Regions from separate parts of the Homo sapiens genome. Here regions 1, 2, 3, 5 and 6 are each linked to region 4. Evidence: promoter capture Hi-C in 16 types of primary human blood cells and fetal thymus (Javierre and others, 2016). All regions are on one chromosome and are shown on one strand. Each heading gives the region's core, a stretch centred on a gene start or on the middle of the fragment in contact. The rest is flanking DNA. Distances are from core to core; before and after follow the strand shown. Region 1 overlaps ANKRD31 (ankyrin repeat domain 31). Region 2 overlaps GCNT4 (glucosaminyl (N-acetyl) transferase 4). Region 3 has its middle 32 kb from the start of HMGCR. Region 4 holds the start of ANKRD31 (ankyrin repeat domain 31). Region 5 has its middle 70 kb from the start of GCNT4. Region 6 has its middle 13 kb from the start of GCNT4.

What was found. Contacts are between HindIII fragments. The CHiCAGO score rates a contact against its expected background, and 5 or more counts as called.
Region 1: a contact is called between a fragment that was not itself captured here and the fragment with the promoter of ANKRD31 in region 4, in 5 of 17 cell types (fetal thymus, naive CD4 T cells, non-activated CD4 T cells and 2 more). The highest score is 7.4, in fetal thymus.
Region 2: a fragment that was not itself captured here is called in contact with the fragment with the promoter of ANKRD31 in region 4 in 8 of 17 cell types (naive CD4 T cells, non-activated CD4 T cells, activated CD4 T cells and 5 more); the score reaches 13.8 in naive CD4 T cells.
Region 3: a contact is called between a fragment that was not itself captured here and the fragment with the promoter of ANKRD31 in region 4, in 1 of 17 cell types (neutrophils). The highest score is 5.9, in neutrophils.
Region 5: a fragment that was not itself captured here is called in contact with the fragment with the promoter of ANKRD31 in region 4 in 1 of 17 cell types (non-activated CD4 T cells); the score reaches 5.8 in non-activated CD4 T cells.
Region 6: a contact is called between a fragment that was not itself captured here and the fragment with the promoter of ANKRD31 in region 4, in 8 of 17 cell types (naive CD4 T cells, activated CD4 T cells, fetal thymus and 5 more). The highest score is 11.2, in naive CD4 T cells.

Annotation. Positions count from the first base shown.
Region 1 is chr5:75,080,491-75,083,190 of GRCh38, forward strand. ANKRD31 (ankyrin repeat domain 31) reads right to left here. Exons shown (of 26, transcript NM_001372053.1): 25 at 78-149. Among named protein-coding and RNA genes, the nearest start is that of GCNT4, 29 kb to the left of the region's middle. The HindIII fragment of the contact is 5,333 bases long and covers 1-2,700 here.
Region 2 is chr5:75,040,275-75,042,978 of GRCh38, forward strand. The region is part of intron 3 of GCNT4 (glucosaminyl (N-acetyl) transferase 4); the gene reads right to left. Among named protein-coding and RNA genes, the nearest start is that of GCNT4, 11 kb to the right of the region's middle. The HindIII fragment of the contact is 1,031 bases long and covers 815-1,845 here.
Region 3 is chr5:75,367,444-75,370,143 of GRCh38, forward strand. It overlaps a transcript of CERT1 not described here. Among named protein-coding and RNA genes, the nearest start is that of HMGCR, 32 kb to the left of the region's middle. The HindIII fragment of the contact is 5,347 bases long and covers 1-2,700 here.
Region 4 is chr5:75,235,524-75,238,223 of GRCh38, forward strand. It overlaps ANKRD31 (ankyrin repeat domain 31), which reads right to left and starts at 1,355. Exons shown (of 26, transcript NM_001372053.1): 1 at 1,060-1,355. The coding sequence starts at 1,163. LOC124901006 (a long non-coding RNA gene) reads left to right here and starts at 1,515. Exons shown (of 2, transcript XR_007058823.1): 1 at 1,515-1,843. RefSeq lists an enhancer at 1,076-1,245 and a silencer at 1,296-1,595. The HindIII fragment of the contact is 5,895 bases long and covers 1-2,700 here.
Region 5 is chr5:74,981,330-74,984,104 of GRCh38, forward strand. No RefSeq gene overlaps it. Among named protein-coding and RNA genes, the nearest start is that of GCNT4, 70 kb to the right of the region's middle. The HindIII fragment of the contact is 1,231 bases long and covers 907-2,137 here.
Region 6 is chr5:75,063,859-75,066,588 of GRCh38, forward strand. No RefSeq gene overlaps it. Among named protein-coding and RNA genes, the nearest start is that of GCNT4, 13 kb to the left of the region's middle. The HindIII fragment of the contact is 1,567 bases long and covers 523-2,089 here.

The sequences.
Region 1 (2,700 bases), core at 86-2,585, 160 kb before region 4:
TTGATCTATTTGCACAATATGTAGAATCTAAACACTTATAAAAGTAAATGGAATTGAATATTTTCTTTTTTTTTTACCTTGTCCAAATTTTGTTTTCTCAAACATTGATTTGTTTGGTTCCTGTACTGGGTCATCTAAACAAGCAACTTCTGAAAGTGAAACAAAACGTTAGTAATAATTTTGCTGAATTAGGGGACTGCTCTGGTCAAATCAGGATGATGGTCACCCTACCGATGGGAAATACAAATAGCTCTTCCTTGACATTTTAGGAGAGATGATTTAAAAAATAAAATAATAAACTAAAAATGGCTCTTCCTACTTCCCCTTATTTCCCCAAAAACAGTATTCTAAAAAGTATGGTCATCAAAAAGCATAAGAGAACAGATTATGTTTGTGACCTGAGGTAGGCTGATGAAAGCCACACAAAATTATTTTTTTTTTTTAGACTTTCTGGTCTCTACAGTGTCAGAGCCATGATTTCCATGATGATATTTCGATATGCAGAAGAGGGAGAAAGATTCTCTCCTGAGAGTTTTTCTTGTAATAGGGTTAGAGAGTTTTGCATTGTCCTAACTTGCCAGGTCTCTGGGTTTCTGTCAGGTACCACAAAACCAGCTACAGAAGAATTCTAATTAAGGAGATTCAGACAAAATTCCAACAGCAGCCTACAGAATGCCAGCAGGGCTCTGCCTATAGATTCTTAGGTCCAGACCAAGGTAGCAAGAAGCTGGTTGGCACACTGCTACCTCCATGGTTCTTAAATTAACATTAAAATTTCCTTTTCTTTTTTTTTTTAAGACAGAGCTTCGCTCTTGTCACCCAGGCTGGAGTCCAATGGCGCAGTAACATAAAAATTTTCTGAAATATCTAATGGAAAGAAAAATCAGGATTTGTGAAAATAAATAAATAACAGGAAACTGTTTATATTACAGGCAACAGAAATAGCAGTTCAGAACCCATTTCTGACTTCATGCTCACTTAAAAGGGAGATTGTGTGCCCTCTGAGGAAGGAGATACCTATCTAGGGTTGGAAATGCCTGCCTAGAACTAGAAAATCTGAGGAACAGATGACCTTCATGATAGAAGGAAATACTTACTGCTCTGCTTCAACTCTTAGGTTAGAAACCAGAAGAAGAAAGCATTTGTTTGGTTTTCCTTCAAGTGTGTGTTTGGGGTGGGTGGTGGGGAGGAGGCAGAGAGAGAGAGAGACAGAGAGAGAGAGAGAGACAGAGAGAGAGAGAGAGAGAAAGGGATGGAGCAACGGGGGCGGAGAGAGAGAGAGAGGATAGAGTACTTTAGCAATTCCAATTCCACCCTCAGGAATCAAAGTAAAGGGGTGAATATCAAGGACTGTCAAATTATTATTTGCACAAGAAATCAAATACTATTAGTCATCCAAAGTCTATAGTCAGGCTGGCTGTGTAAGAGTCACTTTAAAAAATTCAGGTTACTGGGCCTTACCCCATGATTTGATTAGGTAGATTAGATAGGTAGTCAGCTTAGGAACCAAAGGCCATGAACTACTACAAGAACTCTTTTCAATTTCTTAAGCCCTTTAACTTCCCCACAGTTATTAATGTTACCTGTTTTAATGTTACCAGTTATTAATATTACCAGTTATTAATGTTATCTGTTTCCCAAAAATGATGAAAAACACTTTTGAGGCTATCTTCAGAAAACTGTGGAGAATGCACCCTATTAATGGAGCCAGTTTTTATGACAGAGGAGGATCCTGAGAAATTAGGGTGCAAAAGTTAGGAAAGGAATGTAGTTTGAATTATTGGGGCTTGTTATAGGAAAGGAACAGTCCCAGGGAGGCCCTGGGTAGGGACTTGGTGATAGAAACCCTGTTTAATTCTTGGCCCTGGTTATCACAGTATCATCATTTTTTGTTTTGTACCTCCTCTCTTCTGTATTGTCCCCAAATGGTCAAAGACAGGGACACTAGGAAAAAAAAGAGGGGATGCTGTAGCATAGGAGGGTAATATAACTGTAGTTATGGCTGTTATTCAGAAATGTGTGCTGCCTTTTTCCAGATCATTTCAAAATCTGCTGCTCACTGGTGAAGACTACATTCTCTTTAGTTTACTCAGGCTAAAGGCTATTCCATCTGATAAAGGGTATTAGTTTACTCTAATAAGCAAAGATTTATTTTAATGCTTATTTTTAGAAAATAAACAAAACCAAATCATGTCTTCAGAAAGAAAAACAACACTCATTTTTTCCTTTTATATGATACTTAAAAATCTATCCAAAGTAAGTACAGCATAGATTCAGAGAAAGGAATTGTGAGGGATGGGGTAATTTCTTAAATTCTGCTAGAATTAACTAAGGTTAAAAATTGAGTGCTATAAAACAAACAGAAAATAACAAGTATTGCAGAGATGCAGAAAAACTGGAACCCTTGTACATTCCTGCTGGGAATGCAAAATGATTCAGTTGCTATGGAAAACAGATTCGCTGTGCTTCCTACATAGAATTACTATGTAATAAATATTGAGTATCCTTAGTCCAAAATGCTTGGGACCAGAAGTATTTTGGATTTTAGATTTTTTCAAATTTTGGAATATTTGCATATACATGAGATATCTTGGGGATTGGCCCAAGTCTAAACATGAAATTCATTTATGTTTCATATACACCTAAACACAAATCCTGAAGGTAATTTGATCCAATCTTTTTAATAATTTTGTACATGAA
Region 2 (2,704 bases), core at 80-2,579, 200 kb before region 4:
TTAACCCTTCTTAAATCTCTCTCCTATCACACTCCTTGTTTTCTTCTGAGCACTTGCTACAAGGAGTAGTTACTTTACTTGTTTAGTACCTGTCCTGAGACAGAAACATAAGGTCTTTGAAGGCCTCACTCACTACTTTACCCCCAGTATTAAAGACATCCATACCTGGTACGGGGTAGTTGCTCAATGGGACAGAGTCAGAAGACCTAAGTTCTAGTCTGGGCTCTGCCACAAAAAATTCTTCAAGTGACTCTAGCATATCACTTAATCTTGGCAAATCTTTCTTTCCCATGTGTTAAATGGGATAATGTTTTTTCTATCCCACAGTGCAACTGTGAAAGTCTTATGATGTAATGTATGTGAAAGTCATGGGGAAAAAGACAACTTTGGTATGCAAATGTCAGGTATGAGGACCTCCACAAGAGGAATGGTTTCTTGGGAAAACTGAGAAAGAGTCAATGTGTTATAAGTTGGTTTTATTTTTCTAAAACAGTACATTCATTATTCCCTTCATTCTGACATTCTAATCATTATTGGTTTTTCACTACTTGACAGCATTCTTTTTTGTTAATATCTGGAGTATAAATTGTCCCTAAAGTTTCAGAATTATGTAGACAAACACCTGTCTTGGATTTTGAGAGACAGGAAGAAATGTAGTTAATCTTTAGAGTTTTTTCCCCAGTATGCTCGATATTTTTCAAAAGATTAATAACCAAAAAAGTTATTTAAAAGACAGCCAAGAGCACGTGCAATCAGTTTCATGCAGTTATGATTGGCTAAACGCGGTCTGTAAGTATGTGTTGCAAAAGCTATAAGCTTTTCCTGTAAGTTCATTATCTTTTATGGGCAATTCTCCAGGTATTGCAAAAATGCAATGACTTGTTCTTGCATCCCTGTTTGGTGAAGCCATCCCTAAGGACCACGGAACCCACAAAGCAGTACTGAAGATTCTGCAGCAATGTGAATACACAAACACACCCTCACCCAGGGCCTTTGCCAGTCCTCTGTCATTCAGATCACACATCAGTGAGACTGGCTCAGCTCAGTGAATTGAGATGCCCTCAACTAAAGGAGCTCTGTTTGATGTTCCTGTGGAATGTATGACAATTGACAGCTTTCTCTCTAGGCCTGCAATTATGAACGTCATCATCTTCCCTGAATAAAGGACTACTTTACCTGCAAGATTTGGAGAATAGAGACCTAAAGGAAAACACTGAGCATGAAAATAATTCTATCAACCACCTCTATAGATTATAATTCTTCTAGCTAGAAACTTTACTGGAGCCTCTCACATTTGGGCAGAAATAAAGGACCTGTAAGATTACATGGGAAATGAGTAACCCACATCAGGATGTACATACCCACGCATAGACCTCTCAAGGTCATTGGAAATCTGGGCTGTAGCAATGTAACAACAACAACAACAACAAAAAGAAGCGCAGAATTCAGCCCATGGTCACACCAATTGGGAAACAGTAGACTTGATTCTGGGCTTTATTTCATCTGGTCCACAGGGCAAATATCAAAAGCTGACTGTGTGTGTATCTAGCTGGGCAAAGATACATGGCTAAAGTCTTTAGCAGGAAGTGTAAAGGGCCACATACAATGAAACTGAATGAAAAGTTTTTGTTTTGTAATAGATTGTGACCCTCAAAAGGGAGTAAAACATTAACAGTTTTTCTCTAAAGAAAATTCTAAAAAATATCAGAAGATGGTGAATTTCAAAAATACTTATGCCTTCAAATTTCAGTTTGATGAAAAAGCTCACATGAAACGTTTGCTTCTTTTTAGATATAAAGGATTATGAAAAAGGGGTGAATGAATGCATTACATCTTTGCCTCTCAAGCTTTATCAAAGAGGTTTCATTCCTTCTTGGGATCCCCGTCTTCTCTGCCCTTCTCACTTAGCTTGACACAACATAAAGCCAAACTACATTTTATGTTTCATGTTCTAAGTTAAAAATATGGGTTGAGAATATTTTGGCTTCTTTTTCTATAAAGTAGAAAAACTGAATTGAAAAACATGTCTATTTTTGAAAATGTGTATCTATTGCACTAGAAAGAAAATAACTTTCTCCACCTAATATCTACATGGTATGCTTTTTTTTCCCCCTCAGAAATTTTTGGAAGCATTTATTTTGGTATTATATGGCTAACTCCATATTTTTCAACTGGCCAAAATTAATTCCTCAAAGATTCCATGGCTAGCTGAAGAGGTATGGGTAACTGATTTCTAAATGTGCATTTAAAGTAGAATCTCCATGTCCATCGCAGAGGCAGCACAGGGATAAACAGACATGAATCAAGGGTATTGATGTCAGAAATGGCTTGAGGCCAGACCACACTCTTCATGAATGGATTAGACACCCTGAGTTTAAAATCATCACCCTGAAAACCCTGAGTTTTAAGTCATGAGAAGAGCTTGCTTGTTTGTTTTCTGGGTTCTTCCAATGTGGTGGGGAGCTCAGCTGGAGACTTCAACATGCTTCTGCACTTCCACTGAAAAACAGGATTGGCAGCTCTTGGCATGACTTCACCATTTAGCTAAGATCTGTGTGTTTCTTGGCTTAAAATGTACATATTGCTCTCAGATCTTGTGTGCATATTAGACACAATAAAATTAAGACTCAGGAATTCAAAAATTAAGTTAAAAGGATGGAAGAAATAAAAATCTGCAGTGCTTGGGAAAATTCCGCCACAATAG
Region 3 (2,700 bases), core at 4-2,503, 130 kb after region 4:
AATTTTATAGATTAAAATAGACTTAGACACATTAAAATGATTTGCCCAAGATAAAAGCTGTTCAAGTGAGAGAGCAAGAGAACCTCTGGTCTTCTGACTTCTAAGTCTCATTCTTTCTCAGTATGTTTAACACATGGTAACCAGGAACTTGGAAATTTACTTAGAAATAACAACAACAAAAACCTACTGGATGCTGGGAATGAAAAGTGAGTCACAGACTATAAATTGTAGTTTTAAATTAAAATGAATACCATTAATGTGGTGCTATCAATGTACAGAGGTTGGTAAACTTAAAACACAGCAACAACCTATTTCCTATCTATCTTTTGAGAACTGAGAACCAAGAATTAAAAACACTTTTGTACATCTCAAATGTGGCTAAATCTATTGTTCAATGTACCTTATTCAAATGCTTCTGATCTCAAATCCTTTTTTTTTTTTTTTTTTTTTTTAAGATGGAGTCTTGCCCTGTCGCCCAGGCTGGAGTACAATGGTGCAATCTTGGCTCATTGTAACCTCTGCCTCCCGGGTTCAAATGATTCTCCTGCCTCAGCCTCCCGAGTAGCTGGGATTACAGGTGCCCGCCACCACACCCAGCTAATTTTTGTATTTTTAGTAGAGACGGGGTTTCACAATGTTGGCCAGGCTGGTCTCGAACTCCTGACCTCGTGATCCACCTGCCTCGGCCTACCAAAGTGCTGGGATTACAGGTGTGAGCCACCGCGCCCGGGCCAGCCTATTTCCTTTAACTTTGGATACATTTCTTAAAAGCCTGGTTATGACAACAATGAAGGCTATATGCTGGTTATCGTTTATCTCCAATCCTTCATGGCATGTAGTAGGAGCTCAATAAATACTTGCTCTGGGAACTGTTTTAGGGTGCTGGGGAATTACTGATATCCAATTTGCTAAAGTGTTTTGGACATTGACTAAACCTTGATTTAGCTGCTGCACGCAGATTCCCTGCTGCTGGACCCAGTTACCACTTAAACCTCCCAATCCTAACAACGGTAATACAGAAAAGAACCACAGTAAACCAAGCTGCAGTGAATCCAAAGCTCGCTTTATTTCCTCAGTGGTCATTCTGTGGCAGGCAGCCAACAAAACAGTGATAGTTATATTGCAGCTCATCCTTGGGTTGAAAATCTGGGATAAAATCCTTGGGCTTGTTTGTAGTAGTGTTTTATGACTCAGTTTCCTGTTTCATCCTCTGAGCTGGAGGACAGGAAGAAAGTTTAAGCACCTAATTGTGATCAAATTTCATCTTTACTGCCCTCCTTTCTGTATCTGGTGGGATTTTGTAAGACACATCGTTATAAAAGCCCCTTGACTTATGATGGGGCTACATACTGATAAGCCCCACTGTAAGTTGAAAATAAAACAATAATGTACTTTTGACAGAAGCACCTCCATTTATGATGTGGCTATGTGCTGATAAGCCCACTGCAAGTTGAAAATAACGTAAGTTGAAAACTTTTTTTTTTTTGGAGACAGAGTCTTGCTGTATCACCCAGGCTGGAGTGCAGTGGTGTAATCTCAGCTCACTGCAACTTCCACCTCCCGGGATCAAGCAATTCTCCTGACTCAGCCTCCTGAGTAGCTGGGGATTACAGGTGCATGCCACCACACCCAGCTAACTTTTTTATTTTTAGTAGAGACAAGGGGTTTCACCATGTTAGACAGGCTGGTCTTCAACTCCTGACCTCAGGCAATCCACCCGCCTCAGTCTTCCAAAGTGCTGGGATTACAGGTGTGAGCCGCTGCCCCCGGCTGAAAATGTACTTTTGACTTACGGTATTTTCCATATATGACTGGTTTATCGGAACGCAGCCCCATGGTAAGTTGGAGTGTACTGTATTTGTAGTGCTTTGCATAAAGTCGAACAATCATAAATCGAACCATTGTTAAGGAACCATGTGTATTTGGAATTTTGTGAAGCCAATATTGAAGTGTGGGACTAAGACCCATACACCAAAATTGCTAGTCTTCAAGCATGTTAGCTCTTTCTAGTCCATCAAACACTATATTCTAGATATTACACATAGGCATTAAAAAGTAGAGTCTAATGGGAAAAAAAAAAACTTAAGAGTCAGGGAATCAGTAGGTTTGTAACCCCAACCTGTTCCCTCATCTGTAAAACAGGGGTGGTACCACCAATCACCGCTACCACCTCCACAGGACTGTTGAGTGGGGAGGAGTCAGAAAAGGCATAGTGCCGGTACAGACACGGCGGAGATACCCTCACACACCACCTCATCAACCACAGAGCCTGGGTGACAGGAAAATCCTGGTTTGGCATCTTCTAATAACTTCAGAGATCTTAAAGATTTGTTCTAGTACTAACCTCACAGAATTCTATAGGAAGAGAGAATGAAGAGGCCAAATAAAGTAGCTTCACTTATGGTATTTGTGCAAGGCTATTCAAAGTATACAGATGTGGAACGTTCACAGAAAATGTGTCTTAAAAGGTAGACAATATAAATGATAGTATGAACTCTGTTGTAACCAAGTTCGAATAATGGCAAGAAAATCTGGAAGATCCTATAAAAGCAACCTCATTTGAAACTGCTAGTTAGAACTACACCTTATTTGCAGGTTATATGCCAAAGTCAAGTCTAAAGAAAAACTGCACAGTTAAAAGTGCCCTAGAAAATCCCTCTAGGAATGAGGACCACATAATATTTCTCTGTCATCAAATTC
Region 4 (2,700 bases), core at 105-2,604:
GTGGGCACAGACAGTAAACCTATTTTTATCCAGAAGACCAAGGAAAATGACCCCTGCATGCCAGAAGGTATAGGACAAAGCCCAGGGCTTTATGTTGCTTTCTCTCTCACCTCCCAGCCCTGCCCCAAGGCTGGCCCTAGCCTCAGAGCAGACACCAACCATGGCAACTGGGGAACATAAAACTCAAGAGAAAGTGTCTACCAGAGGAACTGGGAAAAGGGATCGGTATTGCCTGAAAAGTGTGGACAGAATCCCCCTTTTTTCTCTCTTTTCTTAACTCTGTGCTAAAGGCTGTCCCCCTTGTAAGGAACTGCTGTATAGTGAAAAGGCTAACACTCAAAGAAACCTGTCTTTCTGATCATATGAACTGGCAAGTGGGTATGATGAGGAAAGGGGGCAGGAGAATCCTGGAGAAGAGAGAGAGGGAAAGGAGAATGACCTAATTCTGTGTACGATCCAACTTAAGTCCCAGACACAGCCCTGAGCACATATGAAGCAGACCTAGTGGCCTCATCCCTGCCCTCTTTTCCCTGTGTCTAGCACAGAGAATATGTTAGAGAAAGGTTTCGATAACCTGAAATACCGACTTTTTTGGATTCGTATAAAACTATTCGTTTCCAGTTTGGCAGGGACCAGTTTCCCCATCACACATTCTTTTCTTGAGAGAAACTGTTACCCATTTTCCTAGAACTGAGCTACGAGTCTCTTGAAGCAAAATGAAGTCTCCTGAAACAAAATGCAGTTAAGTTCAGACCCAAGATCTTTTTTGCTTGTGCAAAAAGACTTAAAGCCCCCAAAAGGAAAGCCTTTTGAAAAATGCTATAAAGCCACCTAGTACAAACCTCATTTTATCCCTAGCTGGTTGGGGGTAGGTGGGAACAGACTGTGTTTGCTTATTTACAAGCTCTCAGCTCAGGCACGGCTGCCCCACAAGGCTCTGATCCTGCCCACAAGCACATGTTCTGGTCACGATCTCCACTCAAAACTCTGACCCCCTCAGAGGGCACCTGGGCCGCCCTGGCGCGAGGGTTCAGGCACTGTGGCCCTAATGATGGTCACCTTCTCCAGGGCAGCTCCTTTTCTTCCAGGTCGCTCTCCGTCACTGAACCCTCTATCACAGTTTCATCACTGTCCCAGTCTGGGGCCTGGACGCCTTCCTCCATCTTTGCCTCACATTCAAAGTCTTTTTTACCCTCCTCTAACTCCCTCTTGCCCGCAAACAAAAAAACGCTTTGAGGGCCAGGGGAAATTGTGAATTAAAAATAAAAATAATATAATCGCAGCAGGAGCCGGGACTTGTCGCAGGGCTGCTGAGGAGGACGCAGGCGGCCGCGAGCGCGGCGGGGTAGCAGTCTGCGAGGCGGCCCGCGGGTCCCGCCGCTCGTCGCAGACAGGGGGCAGCCGCTCGCCACACGACGGAGCCCTGCGCAGCGCTCGGCCCCGCCCCCAGCTCCCGTGGCCGGAAGTGGGAGGCCGCGCGCGCGCGCGCAGGCCTACTCTGGGCGTGGCCTGCCGCTGCGTGTTTTTTTCACGGTTTCTCATTCTCGGTCGCTAGGCTTTGAGGGTGCTGGGGTTGCTGCTGCAGAGACCAGAAAGGCAGGCGTGGCGCACCCAGAACTCAGACCGAGCCTGCTTAACACCCTTGGCCGGGAGGGTGACCTGCCATGCACCTGATGCTTGTGAGCCCCAGATACGGGAAGAGCTGTCAGCTCCTGCCCGCCCCAGCAGCCCTGGCATTCTGGAGCCAGAATGCGACCTTAGACCTAAAGAGAGTTTTTGCAGCCCACCAAGTGCTTCCTTTCCCTTTAATCCCTTGACAGCCTCTCCTCAAGTGTCCTCTGAGGTAGACAAAACAGATACGTTTATCAGAAGTTTTAGCTCATCAACTAATCTCAGTGATGTATTTTGCATTTTTTTTTTCTCTCAACAACGCTTTGGTTACCTGAAATACAGATTATGCAGGAAAGGCAGGATAAATGCTTTATTTTTTCCTCTTTTATCAATTTTTATAATAATAGTAATGCCTAGCAACCTCCAAAAGTAGTCAATTGCGTTTTAATGAAGTACTAGAATTTTATATATTTGATGTGTTTCAGTCTAGTTGAACATTTTTAATTCAAACTAATTCAAAACAAAGCCAAGTGAGCTTCCACTTGCCAAGTGAGAAGAAGATTCAAGAAAAGACCAAGTTGTTTTCCCATAGCAAGTGTTTAGTATTCACCTTGGAGTCTCCAGCATCTAGCACATATAAAGTCTAAGTTTTGTCATAAATGGATGGAGCTAGAGATTTCTGACTTCCCAATTCATTGCCCTTTTCACTATATGGAGTAGCTTTGCCATTATTATCATTATTATTATTTTGTGTTTTTACTATGTATATTCAAGCCACTGCTATTTAAAATGCTTGATTGGTGATTATCTTCTAAACTTAACTTGAGGCTGGGGGTGGTGGCTCTACCTGTAACCTCAATGCATTGGAGGCCGAGGCAGGAGGATTGCTTGAGACCAGAAGTTCAAGACCAGCCTGGGCAACATGGTGAGACCCCTATCTCTGCAAAAAATTTGTTTTTAATTAGCAGGGCATGGTAGCATGGGCCTGTAGTCCCAGCTACTCAGGTTGAGGCGGGAGGATCGCTTGAGCCCAGGAGTTTGAGGTTATAATGAGCTATGATTGAGCAAACGCACTCCAGCCTGAGCAAC
Region 5 (2,775 bases), core at 272-2,771, 250 kb before region 4:
GTGGAGGAAGATAGTTTTCTAAACAAACTAGATGCTAGAATGATAGATTGAATATCCATGTAGAAAAAAAAAAGTGAAGTCTGGTCCATACCTCACACCATCTACGAAATTTAATTCAAAATGGATCATAGATATAAATGTAAAATCTAAAACTACAAAATTCTAGAACATATAGAAAACATTTGTAACTCTGGGTCACAAAGATTTCTTAGATATATCTCTAAAAGCATGATGCATAAAAGAAATAATTGATACACTGAATTTTATCGAAATTAAAAACTGTGTTTTTGAAAGACACAGTCAAGAGAATGAATAGATAAGCCTCATACTGGGAGATAATATTTGCAAGTCATACATCTGGTAAAAATAATATATAACTCTGAAAACCTGATAACAGGAAAACAAACAACTCAATAAAGAAGTGGGGAAAATTTTGGACAGTCATCTTACCAAGAAAATGTATTGAAAATAAGCACATAAAGAGAATCTCAACAGCATTAAGGAAATGCAAATTAAAAGCACAATGCGCTGGGCACAGTGGCTTATGCCTTGTAATCCCAGCACTTTGGGAGGCAGAGGTGGGCGGATCACATGAGGTTGGCAGTTCAAGGCCAGCCTGGTCAACATGGTGAAACCCCGTCTCTACTAAAAATACAAAACGTAGCCAGGAATGATGGTGTATGCCTGTAGTCCCAGCTACTTGGGAGGCTGAGGCAGGAGAATCTCTTGAACCCAGCAGTCGGAGGTTGCAGTGAGCAGAGATCACACCACTGCACTCCAGCATGGGCGACAGAGCAAGACTCTGTCTCAAAACAACCCAAAACCAAAACCAAAACAACAACAACAACAAAAACAAAAACAAAAATCCATGATGAGATACACTATACAACTTTTAGAATGGCTAAAAGCTTTCTTTTTTAACCACCATACCAAGTGCTGGCAAGGAGGTACAAGAACTGGAACTCTCATACACTGCTGGTAGGGAAGTAACGTGGTAGAACCACACTGAAAACATTTGGGGTTTTATTAAAACAAATTCAATATTTATTTACCATACGACCCAGCCATCCTACTCCTAGATATTTACCCAAGAGGAAAGAAAATGTAGTTCATACATACCATTTTTTTGTCGTTGTTTATTTGGAGACAGAGTCTCGCTTTGTCACCCAGGCTGGAATGACTGGCAGGATCTCGGCTCACTGCAACCTCCACCTCCCAGGTTCAAGCTGTTCTCCTGCCTCAGCCTCCTGAGTAGCTAGGACTACAGTTGCCTGCAACCATGCCCAGCTAATAATTGTATTTTTTAGCAGAGATGGGGTTTCGTCATGTTGGCCAGGTTGGTCTCAAACTCCTGATCTCAAGTGATCCACCCAGCTTGGCCTCCCAAAGAGCTGAGATTATAGGCATGAACCACTGTGCACGGCCATACATAGACTTTTACACAAATGTTCTTAGTAGCTTTATTTGTAATAATCAAAAACTGGAAACAACCTAAATGCCCTTCAATAAGTGGGCAACATTTATGGATAAACAAAACATAATATATCCATAAATGAAATACTCTTTAGTAATAAAAAGAAAGAAACTATAGATACACACTACAACATGGATCAATCTAAAAATAATTATGCTGAGTGAAAGAAGCCAGACAGAAAAGAGTACATACTACTCTATAGAAAATTCTAGAAAATTCGAATCAGGCTACAGTGACAGAAAGCAGGTCCATGGTCACCTGAGGAGTACAGGAAGAGACAGGAGGGAGAGATTATAAAGGGGAACCAAGAAACTTTTGGGGGTGATAGACATGTTCACTATCTTGATGGTTGGGTTGGTTTCATGGGCATATACAAATGTCAAATTATCAAATTGCACCCTTTATGTGGCATTTATTCCATATCAAGTATACCTCTTTAAAGCTATTTTTAAAAGAAGGAAAAAAAAAAAGATTGCTATCCCTGACATTGTTGAGCCACTTAACCAATGGACTGCCTATCTCTAAATCTTTTGATTATGAAAAAAAAAAAAAAAAATGAAGCCATAGTAAGTCAGTTTTCCTGTTACTTGCAGCTGGAAGCATAACTTACCACTGCAACTACACAACACCTTGGCTTATATAATAAAAGTCACAGAATATTCAAGCTTGAAGAGATCTTGGGGATCAGCCATTCAAAGCCTATCCTGCCTGCCCCACTCCACTGCCATCCCCCCCAACTTTTCTTTACAGATAAGGAAACAGAAATTCAGAAGCTTGGAGGGACTTGCCCAGACTGACACAGCAGATCTATTAGGAGCTGCAGGATGAGAGCCGCAGTGTCCCGGTGTCCTGACTCCAAAAGCTGGGCTCTTTCCAGTGCACCATATCGCAGTCTGCCTTTTCAATTTTTAATTTCTAAATTTTATTTCCTTAAAACAGCAAAGAGAAAAAAATACAGGGTGGAATTTAATGCTCACAAGTAGAATTACCTAGAGGAATCATTGTATGTTTTATAAATGAGGCAACAGAGCTTTGGGGTGCAGATGAGAAAGGGATATTTTCTCTTAGTCACAAAGCCAACATTAAACACAGGCCTCTTGAGACACTACTTGCCCTAATGATTCTCAAATATATGACTTATTTCTAGTAGTCAACACCTGCCTTCGTGAAATAAACACTCCTCTATGTGTGTGTGCCTGGAATAGCAATCCTGATGTTTCTAAGGGTATTCACATTTTAAAAGTGAAGTGTAAAAATTCAGTCATTTTGTGTTGGTTGACATTTTTTAAATGGCATGTCTT
Region 6 (2,730 bases), core at 56-2,555, 170 kb before region 4:
TGCTTCAGCCTCCTTAGTAGCTGGGACTACAGGCACCCACCACCACGCCTGGCTAATTTTTTGCATTTTTAGTAGAGACGAGGTTTCACTTTGTTAGCTAGGATGGTCTCAATCTCCTGACCTCGTGATCGGCCCGCCTCAGCGACCCAGTCATTTCTTAAAGGCTCCATCTCCCACCACTGCTACATTGGGGATTAAGTTTCAGCATGAGTTTCAGAGGGAACCACGAAGCCATAGCAATGTATGTTTAGAATCTTCCAACAGCCAAGCCAGTGGAAGCTGTGCCATAATAATTCAGCTTGTAAAAAAAAGAAGTATTATCATTTAGAGTTGTGAGGCCTGGAACATAGGGGTTCCGGCTTTCTAACACTGAGGACTACCTGTTTGAAAAGGAATAGGCTTCCTTTTTGGGTATGGAGTATTCCAGAGATGTTCAAAAAATCAGTTTTATAAAAAGGATAAAAATACCACGTATGAGATTGATTAGATATTTTTCATCTATGGTTTAGGGTCAGAAGCCTAAGCTTTCATTTAGAATCCAGAGTAGGTAAAACATGTAGCTAACATCCTAAATTGCCCAGTCTTCTCACAGAGATAATCTAGGGTAAGGTAGTTCTCTCCAACTCTGGTTGGAGTAGACCCTTTTGTTGTTTAGTTTGGGCAATGCTCAGCATGCCTGAAGGGCAATGGATGTTATTTCAGTCACCAGTTGGTATATAAAATAGAGTAAAAGGGCTTGGGAAATTAAGAATTTAATCACCAAAATGAAAACTTAGAATTGCAAGATCTTTTGTATTAAAAACTTAGCATATATGACTTTCATAGATTGTAATCACTAGACAAAATGCCTGTTTTAAAAATTATTATCTTAAATTTTTTTTAATTACAAAAGACATGTGTGCCTAATTTCTTCTTAAAGTCGAAAGTAAACTATAAAAGTACCCTTTCATCCTCCTCAGTCTAGCTTCCTTAGGGATAGGCACTATAAACATTTGTATCTGTAGCATTCTAGAACTTTTACTGAACATACCCCCACCTCCACCCCACACGCATAGAAACACACATTTTTGGAGCTATTTATTAAAAAGTATATATTATATATTTATATATAGTATGCATATATAATATACCTTATCTACATATATACCAGTATATGTGTATATATTATGCATGCAAAGGTATATAATTTTTCTTTAATAAGCCAGTACTTGCATTAAACATTGTCCAAAAATTTACATTTTATTTATATATATAATTTAATTAGTACATATATTCTCAAATGGCTCATATTTTAATTATCTTAAATAATAAAGCAAAATACAGAATAAAGTCTCATACAGATTATTTAAGAATTAGAAAAACAGGCACTCCAAGGAAATTATAGTGAAACAATATAATTTTCTGTTGGTTCTCAAATATAACAATATGTAGGGTTATTCTATCCTGAACATTTGCATTGGACTCTTGAAGGAAGAAAAATAAAATGATTTAATATGTCCTTACACTTTTATTAATAGACAAATATTTCCAGGTACATGTAGTCAAAAGTAGGTCTTTTTCCTTGGTTCTCCAGCCCCGTAATTTATTTCTCCAGAGGCCACTGTTAAGCAGTTTCTTATATATTCTAAAGATGTATCTTAATGTTCTATACGTTTAAAATAAGAAAATATTCAAAAAGCAACACCATATCACCACCCACCAAAATCACTGGACTTGCATGAGAGCAGGCACACCTCATTTTATTGCACTTTGCAGATATTATCTTTTTTTTTTTTTTTTTTTTTACAAATTGAAGGTTTGTGGCAACCCTGCATTGAGCAAGTCTATCAGCACCAGTTTTTCCAACAGCACGTGCTCACTTCGTGTCTGTGTCACATGTGGGTAATTCTCAAAATATTTCTAACTTTTTTGTTATTATTATATCTGATATGATAATCTGTGAGCAATGATCTTCGATGTTATTATTATAGTTGTTTTGTTCCGACAATATTGAAGTTAGGCCAGTTAGTAACCCTATAATGGCCTAAGTATTCAAGTGAAAGAAAGAGTTGCACACCTCTCACTTTAAATCAAAAGCTAGAAATGATTAAGCTTAGTGAAGAAGGCATATTGAAAGCTGGGATATGCCTAAAGCTAGGTCTCTTGCATCAAACTGTTAGGTAAGTTGTGAATGCAAAGGAAGAGTTCTTGAAGGAAATTAAAAGTGTTACTTCAGTGAACACACAAATGATAAGAAAGCAAAGCAGCCTTATTGCTGAGATAAAGTTTGAGTTGTCTGGATAGAAGATCAAACTGGCCACAACATTCCTTTAAGCCAAAACCTAATCCAGAGCAAGGCCCTAACTCCAATTCATGAAGGCTGAGAGAGGTGAGGAAGCTGCAGAAGAAAAGTTTGAAGCTGGCAGAGGCTGGTTCATGAAATTTAAAGAAAGAAGCTGTCTCTACAATACAAATGCAAGGTGAAGCAGCACGTGCTGATGTAGATGTTGCAGTAAATCATCGAGAAGACCTGGCTAGATTATTGATGAAGGTGGCTGTACTAAACAGATTTTCATTATAGATTAATCAGCCTTCTGTTGGAAGAAGATGCCATGTAGGACTGTTAGAGCTAAAGAGAAGAAGTCAATGCCTGGTTTCAAAGCTTCAAAAGACAGGTTGACTCTTGTTAGGGACTAATGCAACTGGTGACTTTATGTTGAAACCAATTCTCATGTACCATTCTGAAAATCT